Regions from separate parts of the Homo sapiens genome. Here all the other regions are linked to region 1. The links are contacts of gene promoters, found by promoter capture Hi-C in human tissues and cell types (Jung and others, 2019). All regions are on one chromosome and are shown on one strand. Each heading gives the region's core, a stretch centred on a gene start or on the middle of the fragment in contact. The rest is flanking DNA. Distances are from core to core; before and after follow the strand shown. Region 1 holds the start of ACTL10 (actin like 10). Region 2 overlaps CHMP4B (charged multivesicular body protein 4B). Region 3 overlaps CBFA2T2 (CBFA2/RUNX1 partner transcriptional co-repressor 2).

The links. The method cuts DNA at HindIII sites, captures the fragments that hold promoters and counts their contacts. A contact is called where the count stands out against the background at its distance.
Region 2: a fragment that was not itself captured here is called in contact with the fragment with the promoter of ACTL10 in region 1 in 3 of the 25 tissues and cell types used here (dorsolateral prefrontal cortex, mesenchymal stem cells and spleen).
Region 3: a contact is called between a fragment that was not itself captured here and the fragment with the promoter of ACTL10 in region 1, in 3 of the 25 tissues and cell types used here (aorta, lymphoblastoid cells and mesendoderm cells).

The regions. Positions count from the first base shown.
Region 1 is chr20:33,665,214-33,669,522 of GRCh38, forward strand. ACTL10 (actin like 10) reads left to right here and starts at 1,730. Exons shown (of 1, transcript NM_001024675.2): 1 at 1,730-3,312. The coding sequence starts at 2,285. The coding sequence ends at 3,022. It overlaps NECAB3 (N-terminal EF-hand calcium binding protein 3), which reads right to left. Exons shown (of 12, transcript NM_031232.4): 5 at 4,162-4,259. RefSeq lists enhancers at 1,423-1,642, 2,453-2,532 and a silencer at 1,773-2,102. The HindIII fragment of the contact is 10,203 bases long and covers 187-4,309 here.
Region 2 is chr20:33,847,241-33,851,549 of GRCh38, forward strand. CHMP4B (charged multivesicular body protein 4B) reads left to right here. Exons shown (of 5, transcript NM_176812.5): 2 at 1,227-1,404; 3 at 3,712-3,826. Among named protein-coding and RNA genes, the nearest start is that of CHMP4B, 38 kb to the left of the region's middle. The HindIII fragment of the contact is 3,016 bases long and covers 914-3,929 here.
Region 3 is chr20:33,531,509-33,535,817 of GRCh38, forward strand. The region is part of intron 1 of CBFA2T2 (CBFA2/RUNX1 partner transcriptional co-repressor 2); the gene reads left to right. Among named protein-coding and RNA genes, the nearest start is that of CBFA2T2, 44 kb to the left of the region's middle. RefSeq lists an enhancer at 2,391-2,890. The HindIII fragment of the contact is 8,204 bases long and covers 1-4,309 here.

The DNA of each region.
Region 1 (4,309 bases), core at 480-2,979:
GCCTGTAAACCCAGCACTTTGGGAGGCTGAGGCAGGCAGATCACGAGGTCAGGAGATCGAGACCATCCTGGCTAACACGGTGAAACCCCGTCTCTACTAAAAATACAAAAAACTAGCCAGGCATCATGGCGGGCGCCTGTAGTCCCAGCTACTCGGGAGACTAAGGCAGGGGAATTGAACCCAGGAGGCAGAGGTTGCAGTGAGCTGAGATCACACCACTGCACTCCAGCCTGGGCAAGAGAGCGAGACTCCATCTCAAAAAACAAACAACACAATGCAGTGCACATCCTGGGTTCCCCACAGCCCCGCAGTCAGATTCTGTTCCTGAAACCTGATTTCACCCTTGCTCTTGATATCCATAACATGTAAGATCCTTTCAATAAAGTCCTTATTTTGGGTTACATTCACCTGAGTCTTCTACCTGCAACCAAACTGGTCCTCAGGAGGATGAGGCTTTGCAGAGACAAGAAGTGACCTCTTTCCTGTGTGGGGGGATTATTACTACCTTTTGGAGGAGAAAACCGAACCCAGAGAAAGATCAAGACTTGCTTAGGACTGCACAGTGAGTCAGCTTCAGAACTGAGTCTTGCTGGGTGCGGTGGCTCACACCTGTAATCCTAGCACTTTGGGAGTCCAAGGCAGGTGGATCACCTGAGGTCAGGAGTTCGAGACCAGCCTGGCCAACGTGGCGAAACCCTGTCTCCACTAAAAATACAAAAATTAGCCGCGTATGGTGGTGCATGCCTGTAGTCCCAGCTACTCAGGAGGCTGAGGCAGGAGAATCACTTGAACTCGGAAGGCAGAGGTTGCACTGAGCTGAGATTGCAACGCTGCACGCCCAGCCTGGGTGACCGAGACTCCGTCTCAAAAATAATAATAATAAAAAAAAGAACTGAGTCTCAAACTGAGGCCCACGTGAATCCATCCGTGGAAGCCCATAAAGGTAGGGCCAGAGCCTCTCGGGGGCTCTTCAGGGAAGCTGCAGATCTGTGATGAAAAAGCTTTTTCTTCAGCACTGGGAGGGGTAGGGGGCCACACATCTGGACAGAGTACATCAGATAATTCTAAGTGGTTTGGGAAAGGAATCAGACTGTGCTGGGCTGCTGAAGCCAGACCCCTGGATGCCAAAATCACTGCCCTTGGCTCTGTCCAGAAGAGAGGATGGGTCCAGGGAGTTGTCATAAGGTAGGGAGCTGCGAAGTGCAGCTGCTGGGGAGTGAGGTCACAATGAGCCCAATCCAAGTTCTTTTCTGCCTTCTGACCAGCCCCTCCCCTCTCCACAACCAGGAACTTCCGTCAAGCCCAGGTGAGAGGTGCCAGGAGGCTGCCTGGGTCCTCAAGGGGGATATATGTCCAAATGGCCTTACCACAAGGCCCCTTCGCCCTCAAAGTTCTGCTCCTCCCGGGGGCTTCTTAGGATCTAAAAGGATCAGTCCTAGCCATCTCGTCAGCCATCTCAGCAAGGGCTGACGGGGCGGAACAGCAAAGCAGAGGCGGGTCCTGAGAGCGTGGAGCCTGAAGCCCGGCGCCAGAGGGAGACCAAGAGGGTGAGATGCGGCTGGAACCCAGCCAGAGCGGAGACTGAAGCCTGAACTAGGGGCCGGGCCTCAGGCCTAGGAACTAGCCACGAGCTGAAAAGGAGGCGGATGGCCCGGACAGAAGAGGCGGGGCTTTCAGACCAGAGGGCGGAGCCAAGAGCTGAAAAGGGTGGTGATTTGGTCCAGAAGAGGAAGAACTTAGGCTCCGGAGGCAGAGCCAAAGGCTGAAGGGGACTACTCCCTAGGACAGAGGCCGGGAGGTATCGGGCCGACGAAGCCGAGTGGCGCGGAGGAGCGGAGCCTTCAGCCCCGCGGCTGGGCCGAGCCCGAAGGTGGCGTCGGTGTCGGGGAGCCGCCGCGTGCACCGGCCGTCCTCCCTGGGCCGCATCGCGGTGGTGGTGGACCAGGGCTCGGGCTTCACCAAGGCGGGCTTCGCGGGCGAGAACCAGCCGCGCATAGTGCTGAAGAGCTCTAGCTTGGTGCCCAGCTGGGACCGGCCGGTGCTGCCCGGAGCGCCGGGCTGCGAGCTGGCGGGCGGCGTGGCGCGGGCGCACCCCATCAAGCACGGCGTGGTGGCGGACTGGGAGGCGCTGGAAGGGCTGTGGGAGCGCCTGCTGGTGGGCGGCCTGCGGGTGTGCCCAGAGCAGTGGCCCGTGCTGGTGAGCGACTCGCCGTTGGCGCCGCCCGCGGGCCGCGAAAGGGTGGCGGAGCTGCTGTTCGAGACCCTGGCAGTGCCCGCGTGCCACATGGCTAGCACCGCGTTGCTGGCGCTCTGCTCCACCGGCGCGTTCAGCGGGCTGGCCGTGGAGGCGGGCGCGGGCGTGTGCCACGCCACGCCCATCTACGCGGGTCACTCGTGGCACCAGGCCACCTTCCGACTGAACGTGGCAGGCAGCACCCTGTCGCGCTACCTGCGGGATCTGCTGGTGGCGGCGAACCCTGACCTCTTGCAGCAGGCCCTGCCCCGCAAGGCCATCACACATCTCAAGAAGCGCAGCTGCTACGTGTCCCTGGACTTCGAGGGCGACCTCCGCGACCCCGCCCGCCACCATCCGGCCAGTTTCAGCGTGGGTAACGGGTGCTGCGTCTGCCTCAGCAGTGAGCGCTTCCGCTGCCCCGAACCCATCTTCCAGCCGGGCCTGCTGGGCCAGGCTGAGCAGGGGCTGCCCGCGCTGGCCTTCCGGGCGCTGCAGAAGATGCCCAAAACGCTGCGGACACGCCTGGCAGACACCGTGGTGCTAGCCGGCGGCTCCACACTGTTTCCTGGCTTCGCCGAGCGCCTGGACAAGGAGCTGGAGGCGCAGTGCCGGCGGCACGGCTACGCGGCCCTGCGGCCCCACCTGGTGGCCAAGCATGGGCGTGGCATGGCTGTGTGGACCGGCGGCTCCATGGTGGCCTCCCTGCACTCCTTCCAGCGCCGCTGGATAACTCGGGCCATGTACCAGGAGTGTGGCTCCAGGCTGCTGTACGATGTGTTCAACTGAGTCAGGCTGGACTGGGGGGGGTGGCACTGCGTTGGGGGACAGCTCTCTATCTAAAGAGTCAAGTGTTTGGAGCTGGCAGGGTCCTCCTGGAGGTTGGAGCTGACTGGATGGGTCACCCCCATACCCTTTCTGGGCCAGGAGAAGGTATTTGGGACCCATGGGACCCTCATTTTGAACTGCAGTTTGAATCTCCCCAACCACTGCCAGTTCAGAGAATGCCAGTCCAGCTGCCTACCCACAGGGCCCTACTTTATGGCAATAAAGGTGATGCCCCACTTGTGTCCATGCCACAGATATGGGAGTTCCTCCAAACCCTCGTCATGTACCATTTGGACATACATCCGATGCCAGGCCCCAAGGGGCGATCCCTTGAAAAGCTACTAAATCTCATGTGAAAGTCACCAGGAGGAGGAGCCCTGTGCCTAGCCATGTGCTCAGGTCATTGTTGACTATGAGTGCCTCAGTTTCCCCTTCTGTAAAAAGTGGGGTCAGGCACAATCCCGGGCCTGCTCACTGCTCCCTCCCCCTTACAAGAGCTATGGAGCAAAGGGAGGTGGAGATATTTCTTGAACACACAAAGGGAAGGGCAGCTTATTTTTTGGAAGTCACCACTCAAGGGCCTCAAGCCCTGGCTATCAGCACTGTTCGAGCTTGTGTATACACGTGTCCACACAAACGCGTGGGTGTTCACGTACCTGCCTACTCACGTATGTCCTCGGGCCAGGCCCTGCCCTGTGAACCTGTGAGCACAGCCTTCCACGCCTAGCCCAGCCCTGAATGATATCCCACCACAGTTGTGATGGGCCAGCAACTAAAGCAACAGCAGCCCCTAGTATGAAGCACCCAGTGTATGCCAGACATTATTCTGGGTGCTGGAAACAGAATAAAACAGACAAAAATCCCTGCCTTCGTTCTCACTGGTCACAGTGATGTATGAAGGGCAGCTCTATTGTTATGATGGTTTACAGATGAGGAAACAGGCCCAGAGAGGTCAAGGGGCACAGCTACAAAGTGGGAGCCAGGATTTGAACCCAAGCCCCTAGCTCTATAACCCTGAGTCAAGACTGTGGAGGATCCCACAGCACAGCAGATGCCCACTGCCTCACAGTGGATCCCCCACCATCAGCCACTCCACTCACCAGCTTGGTGGCATCCATGGCAGCGAGCACTGCACGGTTCAGCGATTCCAATGCAGCCAGCACCGGCCGGTAGACACCCAGGTGCTCTGAGAAGTAGTCTGCAGGCAGAAGAGGTGCTCAAGGGTTCCTGGACCCCCACCCATCTACC
Region 2 (4,309 bases), core at 1,172-3,671, 180 kb after region 1:
GGCACAGATACTTTTAGTAATGTAGATTTTCTTCTTAGATGTACTGTTTTTTTTTTTAAACAAAGGGACAGCTTTTTGAGCTACTCTAGTTTCTTAGAATAACCAGCTCAAAATATGCCAAAGAAGTATATTTTGGGGGTGGTATATTCTGGTCTCCTACAGTCATATTTTGGGGTGGTGTGTCCTGTGCCCCAACATCATCTAAGATGTGTGCTAAAGATATTTTTCGGTGTGAAGAGTGGAACTGAGACCGTGAGGGGAAGGAAATCTGGGTTTCAAGTTGGGAGATGTGGTTTTGGTCCCAGTTCTGCCACAGATTCACCTTGGTCAAATTGCTTGCCTTGACTGGACCTTAACATGAGGTGATCTCCACAGCCTCAGCGTGCTAGGAGGCCAAGGTAGATGATGCCACTGACCCAACCAAATGGCCAGACTCTAGGTTTGGCCGTGGCAAGGAGTTCTGTCTGGCTTTTTAGTTTGGTCTTGTTTTCGATGATGGAGGATGCTGTAGTAGCCATCTTCAGGCATGGGGCTTCTTGCTTTTGAATACATTTCCAGAAGGAAATTACTGGGTCAGAGGATAAGAACATCATGATGGTTGTTGCTGTGTGTTGCCATGTTACTTTTCGGGAGCATTGTAACAATTTACACAGTTGTTGGCTATGAGTGAAATAGCATTTTTAACCCAAACTGATCTAGTATTTGATATAGTCATTATATTTATGATTTCTTTAATTTAGGTGGCATAAAATAGTACTTTGAAGTTGCTTTATAATAATGGGAGCCGCTTTTTTTGAGAGGCATACACACTGATGAATGTGCCAGGTGTTTACATACAGTATGTCATTTGCTGCTCACACTGACCCCATCTGGGAAGCCAAGTAGCTCACCTGAGTCTGTGAGCTGGGCTTTGACCCTAAGGGAGTTTGACCCCAGAGCATCTTCTTCCTCAGGTGGCTGTCCATGCTTTGATTTGTGTGTGTGCGTGGTTACCCGAGGGTTGAACTTTGGCTTGTGTGCTTGTTTACTGGCCGTGTTTTGAGGTATGTGAATTTTATGTTTTTGTAGAAAATTGAATGTGCTCTTTGTGTAGAATTTATGAATCCTCTGCTATAGTGGAAGCAACAACAGAGGTGCTTCCAGTAGAGTTGGGGAAAAGACTCAGTGACACTAGAACCTCACCCTGTGCCGGGACTCTCTGAAACCCTGTTTTCTCCCTCACGCAGCGGCCCTCCAGGCACTGAAGCGTAAGAAGAGGTATGAGAAGCAGCTGGCGCAGATCGACGGCACATTATCAACCATCGAGTTCCAGCGGGAGGCCCTGGAGAATGCCAACACCAACACCGAGGTGCTCAAGAACATGGGCTATGCCGCCAAGGCCATGAAGGCGGCCCATGACAACATGTACGTGTCCACCCGCCCCTGCGCCACAGGGCAGTGCTAGTCCCGGAATGCCTCGTACCCAGGCCATGGCCTTGGGCAGACGGATCCCTTGACTTACCTATTCGAGCACCTGAGTTTGTTTTAATTCTCATTCTTTTTTGGAACTCCGAAAATGGATGACGTGCCTTTGAAAGGAGATCTCATGGGATGTAAAAGTACTTTCTGAGTAATTCAGGGTTATTGTGATGAGCATAGTTTCAAGCTGGAAAGGCCTTTAGAAGGTCCTCTTGTCCAGACCTGTGAATGTGAAGGTGGGGAAGCTGTGTCCCAGAGAGGGAAGCGGATTTGCCCTGTGTGACATGGGAGCTTGGTTAGAACTGGGATTAGAATCGGTGCCCATGATTTTTCCCTGATGCTGTCAGGGGCCCTGAAATGTGTGGTTCATCCAAGAGCTTTGGATCTCTCTGTTCCTATGTCTGCTTTTGATGGCGTTTTCTGCCTCCTCTCTTGCTCTCCGGCTGTAGCTGTCATTGACAGTGATCTTGCCCTCAGCAGTCCTTCTTCCCCTATATGGCTACCTCTCATGGCAGTGGCCTAAGAAACTAGATAACCAAGCTTGTTACAGTTGTAACTAAAGGCCAAGGTAAGGAGGCTCCAAATGAAGGCCTCTCTCTTGAATACAATCTGCATTTGGGCTGGGTGAGGTGGCTCACGCCTATAATTCCAGCACTTTGGGAGGCTGAGGCAGGCAGATCACCTGAGGTCAGGAGTTCGAGACCAGCCTGGCCAACATAGTTGAAACCCCATCTCTACTAAAAATACAAAAATTAGCTGGGTGTCGTGGCATGCGCCTGTAATCCCAGCTACTGGCGGCTGAGGCAGGAGAATCGTTTGAACCCAGGAAGTGGAAGTTGCAGTGAGCCAAAATTGCACCACTGCACTCCAGCCTGGGCGACAGAGTGAGACTCTATCTCAATAAAAAAATAAAAAATAAAAAATAAAAAATCTGCATTTGTTGTAGTGCTTAGATTTGGCAGCATATATTTGGGGGTGCTAGGTGCCTTTTTTGCTTCCTTTTGGGTACTCAGCTGTGCTGTCCAATGGGTGGGAAAATGCACCCTATGGGCTTGCCATCTGTTTTTGTAAATAAAGTTTTATTATTATTTGAGACAAGGTCTTGCTGTGTCTGTCACCTGGGCTGGAATGCTGTGGCCCAATCCTAGCTCACTGCACTCTCAAAATCCTGGGCTCAAGCCATCCTCTCACTTCAGCCTCCTGAGTAGCTCAGACTACAGGTGTGTGACATTATGCCTGGCTAATTTTTAAAATTTTCTGCAGGGATGGGGTCTCACTGTGTTGCCCAGACTGGTCTCAAACTCCTGGCCTCAAGTGATCCTCCCTCCTGGGCCTCTCAAAGTTTTGGGATTACAGGTGTGAGTCACTGTGCCTAGCCTTAAAAGTTTTATTGAAATACAGTCATGCCCCTTAATTTACATATTGTCTGTGGCAGCTTTTGTGCTACGCAGCAGGGTTAAGTATTTGCAACAGAGACTGTCTGGCCATAAATTCTAAAGTGTTTACTGTCTGGCCCTTTGCAGAAAAAGCTTGCTGATGTTGCTCTAGAAATGTGAGGTTGCAGGAGAAGTAGCCTTCAAATAAGTGAGGTTTTGTCTGAGGGTGGATGTTCATTGGACCGAGCTGCTTGAATGAGAACCATATATGCCTCATTTCTGTGTTCTCCTGGAAACCTAGCAGAGTGCAGCTCATTAAATACTGTGCAAATGTTGACGTATATGTGTGTATGTTGGCTTGAGTAAATATAGGTTTATATGATTGTCAGTGTGTAGAAGAAAATTCTGCATATTTGCGGAATTTGCCTTTCCTTTGGGGTCCTAGAGGATCCATAGGTGGACTGAGTAGATGGAAGGCCCATTAGACAGCATGGCTGTCTTCTGTGATTTGTGCTTTTACTTCCCCCTGTACAGAGTTACCCTTGGACTTGAAAAAGAGCTATTGGCCCAGGAGTTAAAGCCCTGCGGTCTTAATGTGATACCTTTACTAATTTGTATGTAGGACCTTGATAGTGCCACCTGTAGGGTGTTGGACTGGGTAGTGTCTTAAAGACATTCCCGTCCCCTTGAGTCTATGATTCTCTATTTTAAAGGGGAGGAGGCAATAATGCCAAGTAACCCCTCACAGGGAGTCATTGCAGGGGGTGTGGCTGGGAAGCTGATTTTGTGGGGCCCAGTTTCTGCTCCCGCCTTGCCTTGCAGGCCCCCTTTACGCAGCCTAATCGATTGATATGATACCTGTCCATTGCATTTGAAGGGACATCGATAAAGTTGATGAGTTAATGCAGGACATTGCTGACCAGCAAGAACTTGCAGAGGAGATTTCAACAGCAATTTCGAAACCTGTAGGGTTTGGAGAAGAGTTTGACGAGGTGAGTAGTTTTGTACAGATCCCATAAGCTTCACAAATGATACCCTGAGGCTGTCCCTTGATGTGCTCTTGAAGGCTCTCAGGCAGGGAGCATTTGGACTTGGACAGAGACAGGGCATGGTGTTAACCCTCCCTGAATTCTGCATTTTGAGGGACACTTTCTCTATTTGGGGTGGAAGCTTAGGTAGAGTAAAGGCACATTCATCAGGACCCTTCAGCAGGCTTCAGGTCACTAACTGATTTGAACAAGTAGCTAGCCTGCACCTTTCCAGGGTGGGCCCTGGCACAGAGCTGGGCAGCAGAGATGACCATGCCCTGGAGAAGTTCACAGGATTTTCCCTGAGACAGCTTCAGCATGAGGGAAAGGTAGAGCAAAGAGGGGGCACTTACCCCTGACCCGGGGTATCTGTCTAGATCTCGGCCATCTGCCAGTTTCTGCTGTAGCAATTTGGGACCTTGAGTCTCTTAGGTTTTTAAAGTATGG
Region 3 (4,309 bases), core at 1,195-3,694, 130 kb before region 1:
ACTACTTTCATTCTGGAATCCTTATCCTTAGACCTTCCTAATAATTTCTGTGGTCACACTGGACCTGATCTCTTCCTGTGCTAAACAAAAGCACACAATCACAAAACTGTGTAGGCATAAATGAGAGGCATATGGGAGTGGTGTAAAAGGAACTGGAAGAGTCTTAATATGCCTGGGTGGGCGAGCTAAACTAATAGCTCCCAGCAGTTTTTCTGAATCAGACATTGTGGAGCCAGGAGTCTAGCATTTGGAATTCCACTGCCTGTGCAAAGGGTCTGTCTTTTATCCTCCAAACCACCATTTGTTAACTGGTTAATGACCCAGTGGACCCGTTGACAACAAAGGAGGGAAAGCTGGTAAAGATCAAGTTAAAAGGAAAAAGAAAAGTTCAAAGGTAGGAAAGTAAGAACAAGAAGGGTTTAATCATATCTTCACCTACTCTTTATTTTTTAACAATTTATTGTGGGGAATTTTGAACATACACAAAGTAGATGGAGTAATGTAGTGACCTCCCATGAACCTATCCCCTCAGCCCCAATAAGCTGCAGTTACCAGACTTAATGAAAGGAAACCAGAACTCTGGTGAGGCTTAGGTTTGGTTTCCAGACCTCTCTAGGCCTTGTCACCTTTGGCCTTATCCCATCAAACACCTCTTTTCCCCATTTTTAGCTCCTGGTGTGCACAGAACACTGCGTTTAGGCTAGTGATGAGTATGACAGTACTTAACCTCTAATAGATTAAGGAAATAACTGTTATTGTTCAAGTATGGTTTTGAGAGCAGAAAAGTGTAATTCTGTCAAAGGTACACAACGAAGAGGGAACTTAGGAAGGCATTATTGAGAAGTTGACATTTGAGTTTACAGCAGAAACGTTGGGCAAGGGGTAGGGAATGATCTCTGAGATAGCAGCATACCCGATCTACTAGCTCTTTTTCACCAGGCTATTTAGAGTTTGACATTTATGTTACATTTATAACAAGGTACATTTCAAGTGTAGCTTTCCTTTTTGCTTTAAGCAACTGAGACATGTAAGTCAATTTCAGTTATTTTCTGCTAAACTGTGTGTCTCTTTGAATGTTCACTATCAAGGTGAATTATACAAGGTGTGTTAGATCCTTTTAACATTTCAGAGCAACCAAAACCAAGTTTGAATGTCTCATTTAACACTGTGAGAGGATGTATCTTGTCTGCATCTTGTGTTTCAGTTGTATTTATCGGTAAAATAAGCCAGGGGAGTATTCTGACTTGCAGTTTAAAAGCTGACAGGCCTAGGGGAATGTTCCACAAAATAGTATATTTTGTATATGGCATGGTATTATAGATAAATGAGCTATTGTGCTGCCTGGCACTGTCTTCTCCCTTGTGCTGTCTTCTGCTGTTTCTCAAGGAGTGATTCCTCTCTGTGTTTTGGAACCGTGTTTCTCACTGCCTACAGATGATGTCCATTTGGCTTATTTCACTGTCATCTCATACACAGCTGTTTCAAACTGCATGGAATCCTCAGAGAACTACACGCCCCTTCCTGAACAAACAGTGCTTCTTCCTGCATTTTCTTCTTAAACTTTTATCACTTTTCCCCCCTTACATATACTTTTGTTTTATTCTTTCACTAAAAAAAAAATGAGGTTTAATTGACTTACAATAAACTACACATATGTAAAGTGTACAGTTTGCTCAGGTTTGGCAGGTATACCTGTGAAATGATCACTGCAATCAAGATAGTCAACATATCATTCACTCCATAAAGTATCCTTGTGCCCATTGGTAATCTCTCCCTCCCATGCTCCCCCTGCCCTGTCTCCAAGCAAACACTAATCTGCTTTCAGTCACTATAGATTAGTGTGCATTTTATAGAATTTTATGTATATATGTTTTATATAGATGAAATCATACAATATGCACTCCTTTCCTTCCATCCTTTCTTCCTTTTTAGGTCTGGTTTCTTTCATCCAGCATAATTATTTTAAGATGTATGTATCAGTAGTTTATTCCATTTTATTGTTGAGTAGTATTCTGTTGTATGGATATATCACATTTGTTTATTTGCCTGTGGATAGATGTTTGAGTTGTTTCCAGTCTTTGGCTATTGCAAATAAAGCTTCTTTGAACATTCATATATAAATGTTTATATGGACATATGCTTGCTTTTGTCTTTTCTTTTTTAAAAAAAAAAGCACAGATGGGAACCGGGCGTGGTGGCTCATGCCTGTAATCCCAGCACTTTGTGAGGCTGAGGTGGGCGGATCACCTGAATGTTAGGAGTTCAAGACCAGCTTGGCCAACATGGTGAAACTCCGTCTCTACTAAAAATACAGCAGTTAGCCTTGCATGGTGGTGTGTGCCTGTAATTCCAGCTACTCAGGAGGGTGAGGCTGGAGAACCGCTTGAACCCTGGAAGTGGAGGTTGCATTGAGCCGAGGTTTCAGTGAGCCGAGATCACGCCAGTGCTCTCCAGCCTGGGTGACAGAGCGAGACTCCATCTCAGAAACAACAACAACAGCAACAACAAATAGAGATGGGGTTCGAGCCCAGGCTAGTCTTGAACTCCTGGGCTCTAGTGATACTCCTGCCTTGGCCTCCCAGACAAAGTGTTGGGATTACAGGTGTTAAACCACTGTGCCCAGACTCTTTTTCCTTTGTAAATACATAGGAATGGTGTGGTTGCATCATATGTTTTAACTATTTAAGAAATTGCCAAACTTTTTCTAAAATATTTTCAAGTACTTACCATCTATATATCTTCTTTGGTGAAATGTCTGTTTAAATCTTTTACCCATTTAAAAAAATTACATTGTTTATTTTCTTGCTGTTGAGGTTTTTGTTTGTTTGTTTGAGACAGTCTCACTCTGTTGCCCAGGCTGGAGTACAGTTGTGCGATCCCAGCTCGCTGCAGCCTCCACCTCCTGGGTTCAAGTGATCCTGAACTTCCTGAGTAGCTGGGACTACAGGCACGCGCCACCACGCCCGGCTAATTTTTGTATTTTTAGTAGAGACGAGGTTTCACCATGTTGGCCAGGCTGGTCTTGAACTCCTGGCCTCAAGTGATCCGTCCACCTCGGCCTCCCAAAGTGCTGAGATTATAGGCATGATCCATTGCCCCCAGCCTGTTGAGGTTTTTTTTTAAATCAGGTATATAATCAGGTATATGCTTTGCAAATATTTTCTCCCAGCGTATTACTTGTCTATTTTCTTAACAGTTTCTTTCAAAGAATAGAGTTAAAAAGATTTTTTGTATCTTTTTAGCTTTTTTTTTTTTTTTTTTTTTGAGCAGTCAGAACACACACAGCATTTATTGGAAGTTTTCCATCTTATATGGGCACAGTTTGTGGCTCCCCAAAACAATTAGAATAGTAATATCAAAGATCACTGATCACAGATCACCATAACAGATATAATAATAATGAGAAACTGTGAAATGTCGCAAAAATTACCAAAATGTGATCCAGAGACAGGAAGTGAGTGCATGCTGTTGGACAAATGGCACTGATAGATTTGCTTGACACAGGGTTGCCAGAAACCTTCCATTTGTTAAAAAATGCAATATTTGTGAAGTACAATAAAGTGAAACACAGTAAAATGAGGTGTGCTGGGCATCCTGCCATTTATGCACATGCCTCTTTAGGTAGAAAATAATCCTGTAAAAGTTGAGGCTGTGGTTGCCTTTCTGAGAATCTTGTCTACAGAAATGGTCAACTGGTGGCCAGCTAGCCAAAGGGCTAATCTAGCCCACAGACATGTTTAGTTGGGGCTACATAGAGCTTTTTACAAATTTGAGTCAATATTTAGAAAATAAAAGTCTGGATTTTGGGATTCCCTTACAAAAACTGGAAAATTTGGCCACACTGGGTCATATTCCCACATAGTCGTGGTGGTTGGGGTTCAGTAGCAGTAGCTGCTGCCCCTTAAGACAGGTCCCCATGGTCCCCACTCAGTTGCTTCCTTATTTATCTTACAAGCCTGGCAAGGAATTTGAGTTGAACTGATCTAGAAGATTGGTGCTAAGAACCAGCTCAGTGGCTTAGCTGTCCTGGGGTCTGCAGGAGAAGGCTTCTTTGTTAGGCCCAGGCAGGAAGTCTGGGCATGGATTGAGTTTTATTTTTATTTTTTTATTTTTTCTTTTTTTTTTTGACCTTTTAAATATTTATTTATTTTATTTTATTTTATTTATTTATTTATTTTTAATTGATCATTCTTGGGTGTTTCTCGCAGAGGGGGAGTTGGCAGGGTCATAGGACAATAGTGGAGGGAAGGTCAGCAGATAAACAAGTGAACAAAGGTCTCTGGTTTTCCTAGGCAGAGGACCCTGCGGC